Linked DNA regions of Homo sapiens: all the other regions are linked to region 1. The links are contacts of gene promoters, found by promoter capture Hi-C in blood cells and fetal thymus (Javierre and others, 2016). All regions are on one chromosome and are shown on one strand. The core of a region is centred on a gene start or on the middle of the fragment in contact, and the rest is flanking DNA. Distances in the headings are between cores, read along the strand shown. Region 1 holds the start of SMARCD2 (SWI/SNF related BAF chromatin remodeling complex subunit D2). Region 2 has its middle 7.4 kb from the start of TEX2. Region 3 overlaps ERN1 (endoplasmic reticulum to nucleus signaling 1).

What was found. The method cuts DNA at HindIII sites, captures the fragments that hold promoters and counts their contacts. A CHiCAGO score of 5 or more calls a contact.
Region 2: a fragment that was not itself captured here is called in contact with the fragment with the promoter of SMARCD2 in region 1 in 2 of 17 cell types (total CD4 T cells and fetal thymus); the score reaches 6.3 in total CD4 T cells.
Region 3: a contact is called between a fragment that was not itself captured here and the fragment with the promoter of SMARCD2 in region 1, in 2 of 17 cell types (total B cells and total CD8 T cells). The highest score is 5.5, in total B cells.

What each region holds. Positions count from the first base shown.
Region 1 is chr17:63,840,444-63,845,131 of GRCh38, forward strand. It overlaps SMARCD2 (SWI/SNF related BAF chromatin remodeling complex subunit D2), which reads right to left and starts at 2,242. Exons shown (of 13, transcript NM_001098426.2): 1 at 2,016-2,242. The coding sequence starts at 2,231. RefSeq lists an enhancer at 1,165-1,244, silencers at 1,965-2,194, 2,565-2,734 and a cis regulatory region at 3,844-4,233. The HindIII fragment of the contact is 8,345 bases long and covers 1-4,135 here.
Region 2 is chr17:64,268,364-64,273,051 of GRCh38, forward strand. No RefSeq gene overlaps it. Among named protein-coding and RNA genes, the nearest start is that of TEX2, 7.4 kb to the left of the region's middle. The HindIII fragment of the contact is 2,531 bases long and covers 1,429-3,959 here.
Region 3 is chr17:64,118,128-64,122,815 of GRCh38, forward strand. All of the region lies in intron 1 of ERN1 (endoplasmic reticulum to nucleus signaling 1), which reads right to left. Among named protein-coding and RNA genes, the nearest start is that of ERN1, 9.7 kb to the right of the region's middle. RefSeq lists enhancers at 2,911-2,970, 3,201-3,340. The HindIII fragment of the contact is 3,044 bases long and covers 816-3,859 here.

The sequences.
Region 1 (4,688 bases), core at 992-3,491:
GATTACAGGTGTGAGCCCACCATATCCTGCCCTGGAGGTTTTTTTCTTTTCTTTTTCTTTTTTTAGGTTCCTCTGTTAACTGTGATCCACAGCTAGAACCACCCTCTGGAGGAAGGGAGGTCATCACTTCCCTTCTTTCAACTATTTGCTCAGCTTGGGCCTCAAATTCTCACTTTTCAAGTGCATCTCATGAGCCCTAACAGACAGGAACCCCTTTGTTTCCCAGATCTCAAGTCCCTTCTCCTGGCAGTCATACAACTGGACTTGGAAAGAAGGCAAATAGGATCCTCTTCAAACTCAGCCAAAGTTAGCTGGCTGGGTTCTCCTTCCCATCTACCTCTCCTGCCAGGAGGAGGAAAGCTAGTGGGATGGGAAACCCAGACTCAGGGCCATCTCCTACTTCCGCACAGCTAGCAGCCCAGGCCTAACCAGCCAGCCAGCTTGGCCTTGCCACAGGCCCAAGGCCACCCCCCACCAAAACATGTGGAATCCATCCTCTCAGGGGCTGTCCCAAGGGCACATTTCCTATGGCTTGCATGCCAAGGAAACTGGAGCGGCTTGTCTGTTCCAGGTCCTTCCAAGGCCAAAGGCCCACAGATGGTGCCCAGGCCAGGTCTCAGTGGGCAGGCCCAAGGGCTACAATGAATGATGCAGGGAGCCCTCAGCAACACCCTGGGCCCATGAATCCCCAACGGGGACAGCAAGGTGGGAGAGATGAGCCCCAGCTGGAATCCCTGGGACCAGGTCTGTCTCTGCCCATACCCAGACTCTCTTTTCTCTTGAGAAAGGAGGAAGAATGAGGAGTAAGAAGGAAAAAAAAATCCAGTCACTGTCCCTAGTTAAGCCATCTCCTTAGAAGTGAGGGCCCAGTGGGGCAGGTAGGCTGTGTATACTCCACGAGGATCCCTAAGGACCTCTGCCTGGAGACATGAGTCGAAAACAGAGGAAGCCCACAGCAAACCCGTAGATGAGCAAGAAGCCAGTGTCAAATGCTTGGGCACATGGCTTCGGACGTGGTGGAGTTAGAACCTGAAGGCCAAATAAAAATGCAGAGAGGGTGACAAGGCAGATGGGCACAGTTTCCAAGCCCTCTGGGGCAACCTGAACAGCAGACTAGAGCACTGGCAGGGTCAGGCTGAGGTCCTCACACACTGAGCAGAAGTCGCTGCTTTGCAAGGGCTTTTGAAGCTGCAATCTGAGCAGCTCTCAAAACCCCAAAGGGGTCAGGACAGCACTCTTTGAAGCAACTCTCGCAGACTCCTCCGGCCCCAGACCAGCAGGGCTCCACTCTGCACGTCCAGACTAATCAACTCCCGGACACGATGACAGGAGGCAGAAAGCCCAGAAGAGAGCCGGCCTGTGACTGGGCTGGGCCTCCCCTCAGGCCAGGCCACCACCGTCTCTGGTCTAAGCTGGAGTCCTCCCAGCGAAGGCGCCTGGCCCTGCCTCAGGAGTAAAGTCCGCCCGTGCACAAGCTGGAATCCCCTGGCCCTAGCCTCAGCGTCCCGTGCCCGTGGGAAGCCAGGCTCCTTCCTCCTTATTAGCAGCCGGGAGCCATCTCAGACACGCTAGAGCTCCGCCAGTTCCCAATCAGAAAAAACAGGGCAGACTTGGACTGGGACCAAGGCCGATGCAGGGTAACCCCGGTTTCTCAGCGAGGGCCCTTTCCCAAACTTTCTCATCACTTTCCAGCCCTCCTACCCTAGACTTCTCAACCCACCCGCCACAATTCACTGGCTCCCCAAACTCCTCCATCTCCCAGTCACTCGGAATCCCTGTGCCGCGGAAGCCCCCAGGCCTCCCAGCTGCTTCCAGCCCTCCGCTGCAGAACCTGCTTCCCCTTCCCACTTCTCCACCGCGACCCGCCGCAGCCCGAGGGTCCCGGCCCGCCCTCCACCGTCTCCCGGAGTTCCTCATGCATTCCCCAGGGCCCTCACTCGAGGCCCCTTCAGCCGCCGGCCCGGGCGCCCTCGCAGCGCCTCTCGCCCCCGTCCGCTCGCGTCCTCCTTGCTCACCTGGTACTGCGCCGCGGGGCCCGCGGGGCCCATGGGGCGGAAGGCGGCGGCCCCGGGGCCCCCCACGCCTCCTGCCGGACCCGGTCCCCGGAGCGCCGGTCCGGGCAGCATGCCGGGTCCCGCGGGGGGAGGCGGCGCTCCCAGGGCCGCAGCCACGGCGCCGCCGCCAGGGCTTAGCGGGGGCAGCGGGAACCCGCCCGCGCCTCGGCCCGACATCGCTCCGTCCCGTCCCGCGGTGCCGCGATCCGGACTCCGGGCTCCGCGTCGAGTCCACTCCGTGCTCTGTGCTCCGCGATCCGGGACTTGGCGATCTTAATTCCGGGTTCCGGGATTTGTCGATCCGGGCTCCGGGATTTCCTAATCCAAGTTCGCGAGTTCCTCACAGACCCGGTTCGGGACAGATTCCGCTCCTGCCCGGGAGATTCCGGATCCAGGATCTGCTGCGGGCCCGCCTTCCGTCCCCGGCCTCCGGAGGTTTGGCCGCCCGAGTCGAGTTACCCAGAGGCGGCTACGAACTCCCTGCCCCGCCCAACCCAGCCCAGCACTAGGCCCCGCCTCTACCTGGTGCCCAATGCTCGAGTGCCTCCTCGAATCCTGCCCCTCGCGAGACCCGCCCCCAGCGGGCACCGCCCCTAACTGCCGACCTCAGAGCCCCACCCCCCCACCTTTGGCCCAGCCTTTCGTCGGAGGGGCGGGAGCGGAAGCTGCGCGCGGAAGCGCCGAGTGAGGCGCGGGGTCAGAGGTCTAAGGTCACTTAGGGGCTTCACAGTGAATGAGCCGTTGCTACTACTCTCTCCCGGTATAGCACCCTCACCGAATTCCGCGGCCACACTCCCCGAAAATAGTTTTGTCAAGTCTCCTTTCTGCATCTTCGGCGTTAAAGACTCAACTCAGAGTCGGTAGCTGTGGCTCACGCCTGTAATCCCAGCGCTTTGGGAGGCTGAGGCGGGCGGATCCCCTGAGGTCAGAAGTTCGAGACCAGCCTGGCCAACATGGTGAAAACCCCGTCTCTACTAAAAATACAAAAATTAGCCGAGTGTGGTGACGGGCGCCTGTAATCCAAGCTACTCGGCAGGCTGAGGCAGGAGAATCGCTTGAACCTTGGAGGCAGAGGTTGCAATGAGCCGAGATCGCCCCACTGCACTCCAGCCTGGGCGGCAAGAGTGAAACTCATCAAAAAAAAAAAAAAAAAAAAAAAAGACTCAGCTGCTCTGTGGGGCAGAACAGCAGCCAACTCAACTTCCTGTAAAAGCTCATGCTGGTAGCTCGGAACTGCCAAGGGACCTAGGAGGCTCCAGACTTGACCCAGCTGGTGAACGGTCGACTTGGCCAAGGCTGAGTTCTACCGCACATTTTTAACGTGGCTCCGCCTCACTTTAAGGAAGCCTGGTACTTTACTCCCCAGAAAATGCTTCTAGTCAAAAGAAATTTGGCTTATGAGAAACCTCCCCGCAGTTTAAAAAAAGAGGTCTTTCTCCAGTATTTATAGCACTTAATTTTCAAAAATGCAGTATCTTTTCAGGTACACTGTGCTGTATCAAAGTATTCAAAAATGCGTCAGCTGTGCCAGGGAGCCTACCCTCTGATGGTCTGGATCTCCTCGCCGTGATATGGACCAGTGCTGCTTAAACTTTAATGAGCACATAAAAAACACTCGAGGCTCTTATTAAAAATGCAGATTGTGGCAGGGCCCAGGACTCTGCATTTGTAACAAGCTGCCAGCGATGCTGTTGCTTCTCAGACCACACTGTCAAGAAGCCGGGATCTAGACTTTTTTTTTTTTTTAGTTTTTTTACTATAATTGCTTTATTTTTCCAGCCCCAACCAAGTAATACTTCCTTCCTTGCATCATAGCACCCCAGATCTTTTTTACAGTATAGTTCTCCAGTGCTTTTTAGAAATTAGTTCTCCTCATGCCTCTAGTGATAAACACCGCTGCTGCTGTTTTCTTACCTCCTGAACTTAGAGATCCCACTCTATTGCCCCAAGAGTCGATAACCTGTCAGTCTGGGGACTGGCCACTGGAATTGTTAAAGTCACTGAATCATGGCCCCTCCCATCCCTGTAAAGTGGGTTAAGAGTTCATGATAAGGCAGCTAATATCCATTTCAATCCTTTTAAGCTTCTAGAACAACAGTAATTCTCAAAGTGATAGGGGCAGTGGAGAATCAGAGTCCTCTGGGAAGCTACTCCAAAATACCTCCGCCAGCCACCCCTCCAATCCAATGGCTCTCAGTATTGTATTTGAAAAATAAGCTTCCTAGGTAATTCTGATGCGACCCAGTGGGTCGCATCAGAAAACACAAGATTTTTTCTACCCTAGAAAAGGGGCAAGCTAATAAGTGCATTTAAAAGCAGATCAGCTGGGTGGAGTGGCTCACACCTGTAATCCCAGCACTTTGGGAGGCCAAGGTGAGTGGATCACTTGAAGTCAGGAGTTCGAGACCAGTCTGGCCAAGATGGTGAAACCATGTCTCTACTAAAAATATAAAAATTAGCTGGGCGTGGTGGTGCACACCTGTAATCCCAGCTACTCAGGAGGCTGAGGCACGAGAATTGCTTGAACCCAAGAGGCAGTGGTTGCAGTGAGCAGAGATCGTGCCACTGCACTCCAGCCTGGGTGACAGAGTAAGACACTGTCTCAATAATAATAAAGCAGATCAAACGGTTAAA
Region 2 (4,688 bases), core at 1,444-3,943, 430 kb after region 1:
CAGAAGCCAGGTATGGAGAATCCAGGGTTAGGGATGGACAGACAGGAGAAACACTAAACAGTTGGGGACACTGACAACAGGGTGGTTGAAGTGATAGGTCATGGGTTCCATGCGGGATAGGAAATCCAAGGGAGAGGGGATAGACGGGAGGAAATATGTGGTGGCAGGAAAGGTGAGAGGAAGCCGACTTCGTTCATTGGTGAACCATTCCGAGTGATGACAAGGTCAGGTGCAGCCACAGAACTGGAGTTTCTAAAGATGCTCAACTCCTGGGTTTTCTCTTCCCCTGGATCCTTTATGGGAAATAATCAGTCTGAGGACTGGGCAAGCCTCCAACACTTTCTTTTCACTCTGCACCAGCACTGGGACGGCTCTCCAAGATGGGGGGCAGGGGGAGAGCCTCATTCGTGACTGGTTTTCCTTCTAAAATGAAAACCTGTTTATAATCAGGACTCCCACCACCTTCGAGATACAAGCATTTGTGGGAAGGGCTCCTTGAGGGACATCATCAGGGGCTTTAGAGATGCCTCAAGTGGTGGATGCACTCACGAGAATAATTCCCTGCCATAATGGGGCAGCAGACAGTGGTGATGCCCATTATTTACTTTGCCAATTAGCATGTGAGGCCTGAGGTTATTAAATATAAATGGCTCAAGCTCTGTCATTCCAAGGCCCGCTGGGGAATGGTGGCTTCTAACTGATGTGGAGCAGCACCAGGGTGGAATTTCTAAGGAGAAAGACTGACATTCTCCTCCCTTTCTGCCCTGATTCTGCACCTTGCCTCTCAGGGCCTTCCCAACACTCTGCACAGAGAAGGAATATGCCTTTCAGCAGATACTGCCTTGCTCTCTTGATGACCTTGACATTGCCTGCCATCTTTGTTGCCTTCCAACCACAAGGTCCCCTGCTCGTGACTACCATCCTCCTGCCTCCACTCCAGCACGGGAAATCCAATCTTGAGCTTGCCTGGAATCACCCCCGAACACGATTCTAACTCCAGGGACAGAAGGTCAACAGCACAGCCAATGGATGACAGCCCCAGCCCTGCAGCTGGGGCACCTCTCAGCCCCACCAGAACACACCATCCCTTAAATAGCAGAAGTGGAAGGGCTCAACTGGCCATTTAACGACATATACATCCACCCAAACACAGGGGAAGGTTGGGTGTTTCTTGGTTCGTAACCTTGAAAAGGTCATTTATACACCCAGATATAGAGTACCTAGGAATAAGCGGGAGATGCTGGCTCCCTCCCAGGTTGTTCAACAGAATTGTGAGTGGAAATGTTGGAATTGCTAGCTTTCATCATTTCCATATGGTTACTTAGCACCCATTTTCTGATTTAGAAGCAAAGATATTTGGGTGAGAGTTTAGGCAAGGAAAATGTTTGGATCTGTGAGAGTTGCCCAGAAAACAGAGCTTGAGACAAAAGCTTGTGTGTGAATACACTACTGGGGGGTGTGAGCCCAGGGAGCATAATTGAGGCTCCGGGAACTGACGCAGGGAGGGAGGCAGAAGCACTTGAGTGCGTGTCACTGGGGTGGCCACATTCCTGGCTGCTTGATTTGGAGGGAACTGTCTGAGGACTGTAAGAAGTGTCTCAGGACCCGCCCCTGGGGTAAAGGGGAGGGCACTTACCCACTGGCCCCTTCCCCATAGGTAAAAGGCTCTGCACACCTGCCTGAGCCGAGCTTCCAGAATGCACTGGCTTGGCACTGAATGGGTTCCAGTGCTTTCTAAGCTGCAGTGTCAGAAGAGATGCCCTGGGCTGGGTTTGAGAGATGGCAGCTGCAGGCCTGAGGCAAGATACTGTCAGTTTACACCTGCCAGAGCTGCTGGGAACATTCACAGTTCTCACTGCCACAGCAGTGGCTGGAAGGATCTCAGAGGGTGTTTAAGAGGTGTGTGGTACAGACTATTTTCAAAAAGAGGGATAAATTTGGAGCCAAAAAAGATATCTTAAGTTAGGATGGAGGGATATAAGATATCAAATGTCTTTTAATGTTACAGTATTCTTTTAGGGAGGCAGCATTAGGCTAGTGGCTTTGAGGTCTTTTCAACCTGGGCTCAGATTTCGACCTGGGTTCAGGGTCCACTTCTATTGTTTCTGAGTTGTGTGACCTTGGAGAAGCTATTGAACTCCCCTGAGCCCCTCATCTAGAAATTGCCGATGTCCACATCCTACAGTTTTGTAAAGATTGTGTATGTAAATTGCTTAGTATAGCATCTTTACATAATAGTTGCCCAATTAATGGAAGCTGATGTTTTTTACTATAGAGAAAATTACTGATCATGGAATGTAAGGCATGCAGGAAGACAATGGGGTGATGTGCTAAAGCCTCAAAAATCAAAAATAGAAGTGAAAGAAGATATCATATGGTTGCAGGAAACCAAAAAGATTTCTAAATGTTCCGAACAACCAAGCAGCTTCTGTCTACAATGACTACGTATCCTGGCATTTCCAAGACAGCATCCATTTGAAATATTCTCTCTGGTTGTCCCAGTACATAAATTCATATTTGAGAGGCAGTCACCTCGATCTTGAACCAGAAAACAGCATCATAGGTCTACCCCACCCAGGAGGGAAAACATCGGCTCCTAGTTTCCTTTGCTCCACCCACTCCTGGAGTGTCAAAAACATAACCCTTCTTTTCTGAGATTCTTCCTCCAACACCTCGCCTGAAGGGGCAGTTTTGTTTTCAGAAGTGAGTTAACTAACAGTCACAGGCCTTTCAGAAGAACCGGAAACTTGCAGTGCAATGGATACCCCACAGCAGAGGAGGAACCAAAATCCACAGGTGGAGAACCCCCCACCTTTAACCTCTGCCCCATCCCCGCACCCTCTCCTGCTGAGCCTGTGGGATCCACCGCAGCAAGAAATGGTTTGGGTTTTTCTGTTATGAACATGATAGAAGCTCATTTAGAATATTTTTAAAACAAAGAAACATAGAAACATAGAAGAAGGAAGAAAAGACTCATTTTCTTTTATTTTTTTTGAGACAGAGTCTGGTTCTGTCACCCAGGCTGGAGTGCAGTGGCGCGATCTTGGCTCACTGCAACTTCTGCCTCCCAGGCTCAAGCAACTCTCCCGCCTCAGCCTCCCGAGTAGCTGGGATCACACAGACACGCATCACCACGCAAGATTATAGACACATCCCTTCTCTGCTGCTAGTTTTCTGTGTGGTCCTCTAGACTGGGAGCTCTGTGAACAGTGAGCCCCTTCTGACTGGTCCTCTGTTACATCCTGACAGTTGAGCTCTGATAGGTTAAAGATGGCCACTTAGTCGTGACTGTTCCCTCATCCACAGCTATAGCTTATTTCTCCATCCCTTGGAATCTTGGGCTGGCCTTGTGAGGTAGCCAACTTCCAGAATGACCCCCATGATTCTCACTTCCTGGTCATTCATGCTTTTTCATAATCTCTCCTTCCACCATGAGTCAGGGGTCACAATAGATACAGTATGGTGGAAATGGCAATGTATGACTTCTCAGGCTAGCTTATGAAGGGCATTTGGGTTGCTGCCTTGGTCTCCTGGATTACTTGCTTGGGGAATAGTACCCATCAGGTTGTGAAGATACTCAGGCAGCCTGTGGAGAGGCTGATGTGCAGAAAAACTGAGACTACCCACCAACAACAAGCACCAATTTGTCAATTATATGAGTAAGCCACCTTGGAAATGGATCCTCCAGCCCCAGTCAAGCCTTCAGATGAGTGCAACCTTGGCCAACATTTTCACTGCAATCTCACGGACACTCCCAACCTGAACTGCCCAGAAAAACTGCTCCATAATTCCTCACCCACAGAAACTGTGAGAGATAAATGTTTATCATCATTTTAAACCACTACATTTTGGGATTATTATGCAACTATGAATAAAACACCCCATGACTGGCTTTGTCCAATAGAATGCAGCAGCTGTGATATTCTGGAACTTCTAAACTCAGGCCTTAGGAGAACTGAAGCTTTCACTTCTTGACTTTAGGAATCCAGGCACCATGCTGTAAGAAGCCCAGGCCACATGGAGAAACCACAGAAGAGAACTGAGGCACTCCAGGTGAAAGCCCCACTGAACCTCATAGCCAACAGTCAGCATTGATTGCCATATCTGTGCATGGACCATCTTGGAGGTTCCAGCCGTGTCATGTCCTAGACACCTGCAGCCTTAGCTATCACCACAGAGAGCAAAACACACAGTTGAGCTCAGTCAACCCACAGAAATGTGACATAATAAAATGGCAGTTGTTTTCAGCCCCAGTTTTGGGGTGATGTTTTGTACTGCAATATTTAACCATAAGCTGGCTCAGCTTCTGGCATCTAATTGACTCTTGAAAAATACCTGGTGGGCCAAGCACAGTGGCTCACACCTGTAATCCTAGCACTTTGGGAGGCCAAGGTGGGCAGATTGCCTGAGCTCAGGAGTTCGAGACCAGCCTGGGCAGCATGGTGAAACCCCATCTCCACTAAAATATAAAAAATTAGCCAGGTGTGGTGGCATGTGCCTGTAATCCCAGCTACTTGGCAGGCTGAGGCAGGAGAATTGCTTGAATCCGGGAGGGGGAGGGTGCAGTGAGCCGAGATTGTGCCACTGTACACTCCAGCCCGGGCGACAGTGAGACTCCGTCTCCAAAAAAAGAAAAGAAGAGAAAAATATCTGGTGAACACATGGGTGTCCCTTGTTGAGTCTCAGCT
Region 3 (4,688 bases), core at 1,088-3,587, 280 kb after region 1:
TTCACCTAAATGGTGATCCTAATTTGGGAAGACATTTGGAAACAGGCCCACCAAAGAGATTTTCTGGTTCCGTTGCTTTGTTTTACAGATGAGGAAGCAGAGGGGGAAATAACTCATTTGCCCAAAGTTGCACAGCTAGCTAGTACAGAACCTCCGGACTCTCACTTGCTGAAAGAATGCATACAATTTCATCATATGGGGCAAACACACATATAGAAACAAGATACTGGCCCTATGATTACATTTAAAAACAGCTAAAATGATTTTACATTTAAAAACAGCTAAATGCCTATCTGCTCAAGGAGTGCAGAACTGGTCTGCCACTTGGGATTTCCTTTAAGCATTAAGTTAAATTAGGAAACAGCCCTGGTGCTGGAGTCCACACAGCGCTTTCAGGCCAGGTGCCAAGCCCCATTCCAAGGTTGTATTCAAAGAGCGGGCTCCCAATTCTACTGACATTTGTCAACTTGGTTCCAGCAGAGTTTTGGATTTGGTCCAGCCCACTCAATGTGATGCTTGAAAGCAAGTGTCCTCCTGTTTCTAAACCAGCTAATAAAGATCCTCTGAGAAACAACTGAGATGGGTCCGGGAGCTGAGACAACTGACTGGTCCTCTCCTGTGTTCTACAGTTGGGCTTGTCAGCTCGGCACCTGCTATAAAAACCCTTCGAGGGAACTCTGCCTGACTCAGGCAATGAGGCTAATAGCCAGCTCTCACATGAAAAGGGGAAGGGAGTGTCACAGCCTGCACCCTCCCACCATTTGCTTCCAAAACATATGTTCCCACCCTGATAGGAAAGTTCCTGTTGGTTCACAAGCTTCTTCTTGTGCTTTAACTAACTCACTCCTTCTACAAATCCCTTCTCCTCACTCGCAATGGCTATTTCATTTTTGTTATGGAAGGTTCTTTTAAAACCATGAAGATGATTTTACCCATCAGGATACTGTGAAGGAGCCTGGAAAACAACATTGTTTTGATTTCTTAAGCCTCTTAATATATGGAAAAGGCAATAAACAAATATATAAATAAATAAACAAGCATAAGTCGGGTAACTTTAAATAAACATTTAAACATCTTACAATTCAGTAACTAAATATGTTTTAATATAAGGCCTATTAGTTAAAGCTGATAAAAGCAATTTCAACAGTTTGTATTCAAAGGAAAAAATCCATTAAATTACCTGCTCTTTAAAAGTTGAATGATATAGTACAGTAGAGAAAATGTAATATTAGGTTCCTTTTTTTCTAGGTTTTTTTTTTTTTTTTTTTTTTTTTTTTTGAGATTGAGTTTCACTCTTGTTCCCCAGGCTGGAGTGCAGTGGTGGGATCTTGGCTCACTGCAACCTCTGCCTCCTGGGTTCAAGCAATTCTCCTGCCTCAGCCTCCCAAGCAGCTGGGATTACAGGCACGCGCCACCACGCCTGGCTAATTTTTGTCATTTTTTTAGTAGAGACGGGGTTTCACCATGTTGGCCAGGCTGATCTCCAACTCCTGACCTCAGATGATCCGCCCGTCTCAGCCTCCCAAAGTGCTGGGATTACAGGCATGAGCCACCACGCCTAGAACTAGAAATAAAGTTAGAACTTTATTTCTAGTTCTAACACTAACTAGCGGACTCTATCAATCCTAACCTCTCTGTAAAATGAGCCAAATGCTGTGTCTAGTCTGGTCCCGTGCTCTGTGACGTGACTGGGAATTTGGAGATGCATTTGTTCTTTCCAGGATTAAGGTACAAAAATTACTTGAAGGCCTCATCCTGGCTGCACATCAGAGTCACTTGGGCCTTAAAACATTTTTTGCTGGTTTATTTGGTAGAGATGGGGTCTTTCATTGTTGCCCAGTCTGGTCTCAAACTCCTGACTTCAAGTGATCCTCTTGTCTTGGCCTCCCAAAGTGCTGGGATTACAGGTGTAAGCCACTGAGCCTGGCCTTAAACATTTTTTTTTTAAAAAAGAAAAGATGCCGGCCCCCACTCCCAGAGATTCCAATTTCATTCACATAGGATGGGGCCCCAGCACAGCGTTTTTAAAAAGCTCCCCAGGTGACTGAGTCATGGCTGGGAAGCACCGCCTCAAGTAACACATTCCTAGCCACAGTTGTGGCCCCCTGTACAGGTGATTCTCTCACTCCTAGTGGCCCCTCAGGAGTCATGGGCCATTTGCTTTAAGAGAAGAGAGATCTGATTTACCTTGGTCAACAAACTTCTCTGACTCAACTGGAGATCAATGACAATGTCAGGTTCTAGGGATGTGACAGCACTGTTTGTTCAGAGAATGTACAGAAAAATTCGGTTTCCATGACAGACACTCCTGCAGCCCAGACAAACAATTATTCCTTCATCTGACAGAGAGGGGGGAAATAATCCACTGGAGAATGGGATGGTTTTGAATTATAATTATAAATTAGTCTACTAACAAAGGAAGTCATGTTTAATACATGAGAGGACAACTCTGGGCCAAGGTTCATTTTTTTAACAGTGAAACATCATGCTGAGTGAAAAATGAAACTGACATGAAATAATCACAAACTGTTTACCTCATGGAGTTTGGCAATGGAAAAATTAATCTCATTACTGATAAGAAGAGCCCACCAAAAGAACACTACACACTATGGGTCACGTCCACCCAAGCAAATATCCTGAAAGCTCCTCTAGTTCTGTAGAAAGACACACAACTGGTGCAATCCCATTAAAGAATATAAAATATAGCTGAAGCAATACCTCCCACCCCCATCCACAACCCACTTGCTTGATGATATAATACAGCCCCTTTATTGGTCTTAATGAGTCTCAAAGAAGAATTCAATAAATATTTGCTGAGTGCCCCCTACAGTGGGTATAACCAGCATGCCACGTTAAATGCCACAGAGGATGCAACCATCAGCAAGCCAGGGTCCCTGCCTTCTCGGATGAACCAGCAAGGGAAGTGAGACACACTCCCAGGGGCACCTTCCTTCCCCCCTTGCTCCTTCCTTCCCTCATTAGTCTCCTCTGAGAGCTACCTAAGCTAACTTGAATCCCTCCATTGTGGTTTAAGAGCCAGAGTCACAGCCACTGTCTCTCTCCTGTCATCACAGACCTGCTCCCTGGTGCCAGAACTGCTTGGCAGGTGGCGCCTCTGCAAAGGCAAACACCCAGAACCAGCACGGTAATGCAAGAGTTCTATCTTTTCAGGACTTCTTGGTGAAGGCTGTGACTGAGCTAGAGAAGAGCGGCTTGGGTTAAAGGCCTCTAAGGAAAGAACTTTCAGTTTTGTTCTTTCAGACATATGACTAGGCGAGATGTTACTGAAAACATGCACCTGCTTGGATATTATTAGACTCCAAGCAAAGAAATTAGCTTAAACTGTGAATTAGGCTTAGCAGGCAATTTTTTGTTGTTGTTGTTGAGACGGAGTCTCTGTTGCCCAGGCTGGAGTGCAATGGCAGGATCTCAGCTCACTGCAACCTCCGCCTCCCAGGTTCAAGCGATTCTTCTGCCTCAGCCTCATGAGTAGCTGGGATTACAGGTGCCCGCCACCATGCCTGGCTAATTTTTGTATTTTTGTAGAGATGGGGTTTCACCATGTTGGCCAGGCTGGTCTTGAACTCCTGACCTTATGATCCGCCCGCCTCAGCTTCCTGAAGTGCTGGAATTACAGGCGTGAGCCACTGTGCCCAGCCGAGCAGGCTTTTAATCCCTACTCTCTCCATGATTGCTGGATTTGACTCTACAGTTGAAAATGGCCAATTTCCTTGATGGAGACTCTCAGGTGAAGGCAGCATTCCCATCTCAAAATGGCATCTTCGCACAACTGCAACAAAGGGTAGAAGGCCATGATTCTTAACGGAGGAAAAATAACATTATCTGGGTATTTTCCTGAAGCTTACAAGAAAGCCTACTGGCCTAGACCTTCTCTAGATCCTTCTCTCATGGCCACATAGTTTGGTCAGCTCCTCAGGGTATGACTGAGGGTAGCCAGACTGGTTTGTCCCAACATACGCACCAGAACATAAGCACTGCAGGGGCTTCTCTTCAAAGGGAGGTAGGAGGATCAAGTTTAAGGTTTGGTTCTGCCACTCACACATGACCCTGGACAGGTTACCAGCCCTTGCTGGTTGCCTTTTCCCATCTGTCTGCTCTGGAAGACAGAGCAGGGTAGTAATTTTTCTCAGCTTGGGAGAGGAGGGTAATGCCTGAGAGAGGGTGCCCCAAACACCACCCTCCTAGGTTCTGATGTGCTCATACTGTTACTGAGGGATGTGCGCCATATTTCTTATGTGCAGCTGGAAGGGGAAAAAATTGAGACTCATTGGACTACATGGCCGAGAGCCCATCAAGCAGTCTAATGCACTCTGATTCCAGTTATCTTGGGAGGCTACACATCTATTCATACATGCTTCTAGGGCTCAAAATATTTCTGGAATTCTTTGGAAATTCCCTTCAAAGAATATACTTTTGAATCCCCTAAATGGTAAAAATCCTGTTCACTTTAGGATGGATTTCATTTTAATAAATAGCTGAAAACCAAATCCAAGTGTCCTCAATAAATTGTGTGATCAAACTGGGTAATAACAATTTTGATCAAAAGTGTAGTGTGAATCATGTAAAAGTCCTATTAAGCAAAGACTGGAAGGAATTGGAGAATGTTTTAACTTGTATAAGGATAACTGGCTTAAGAGTAAATATTTGTTTTCAAAGGTTCGTTTTTG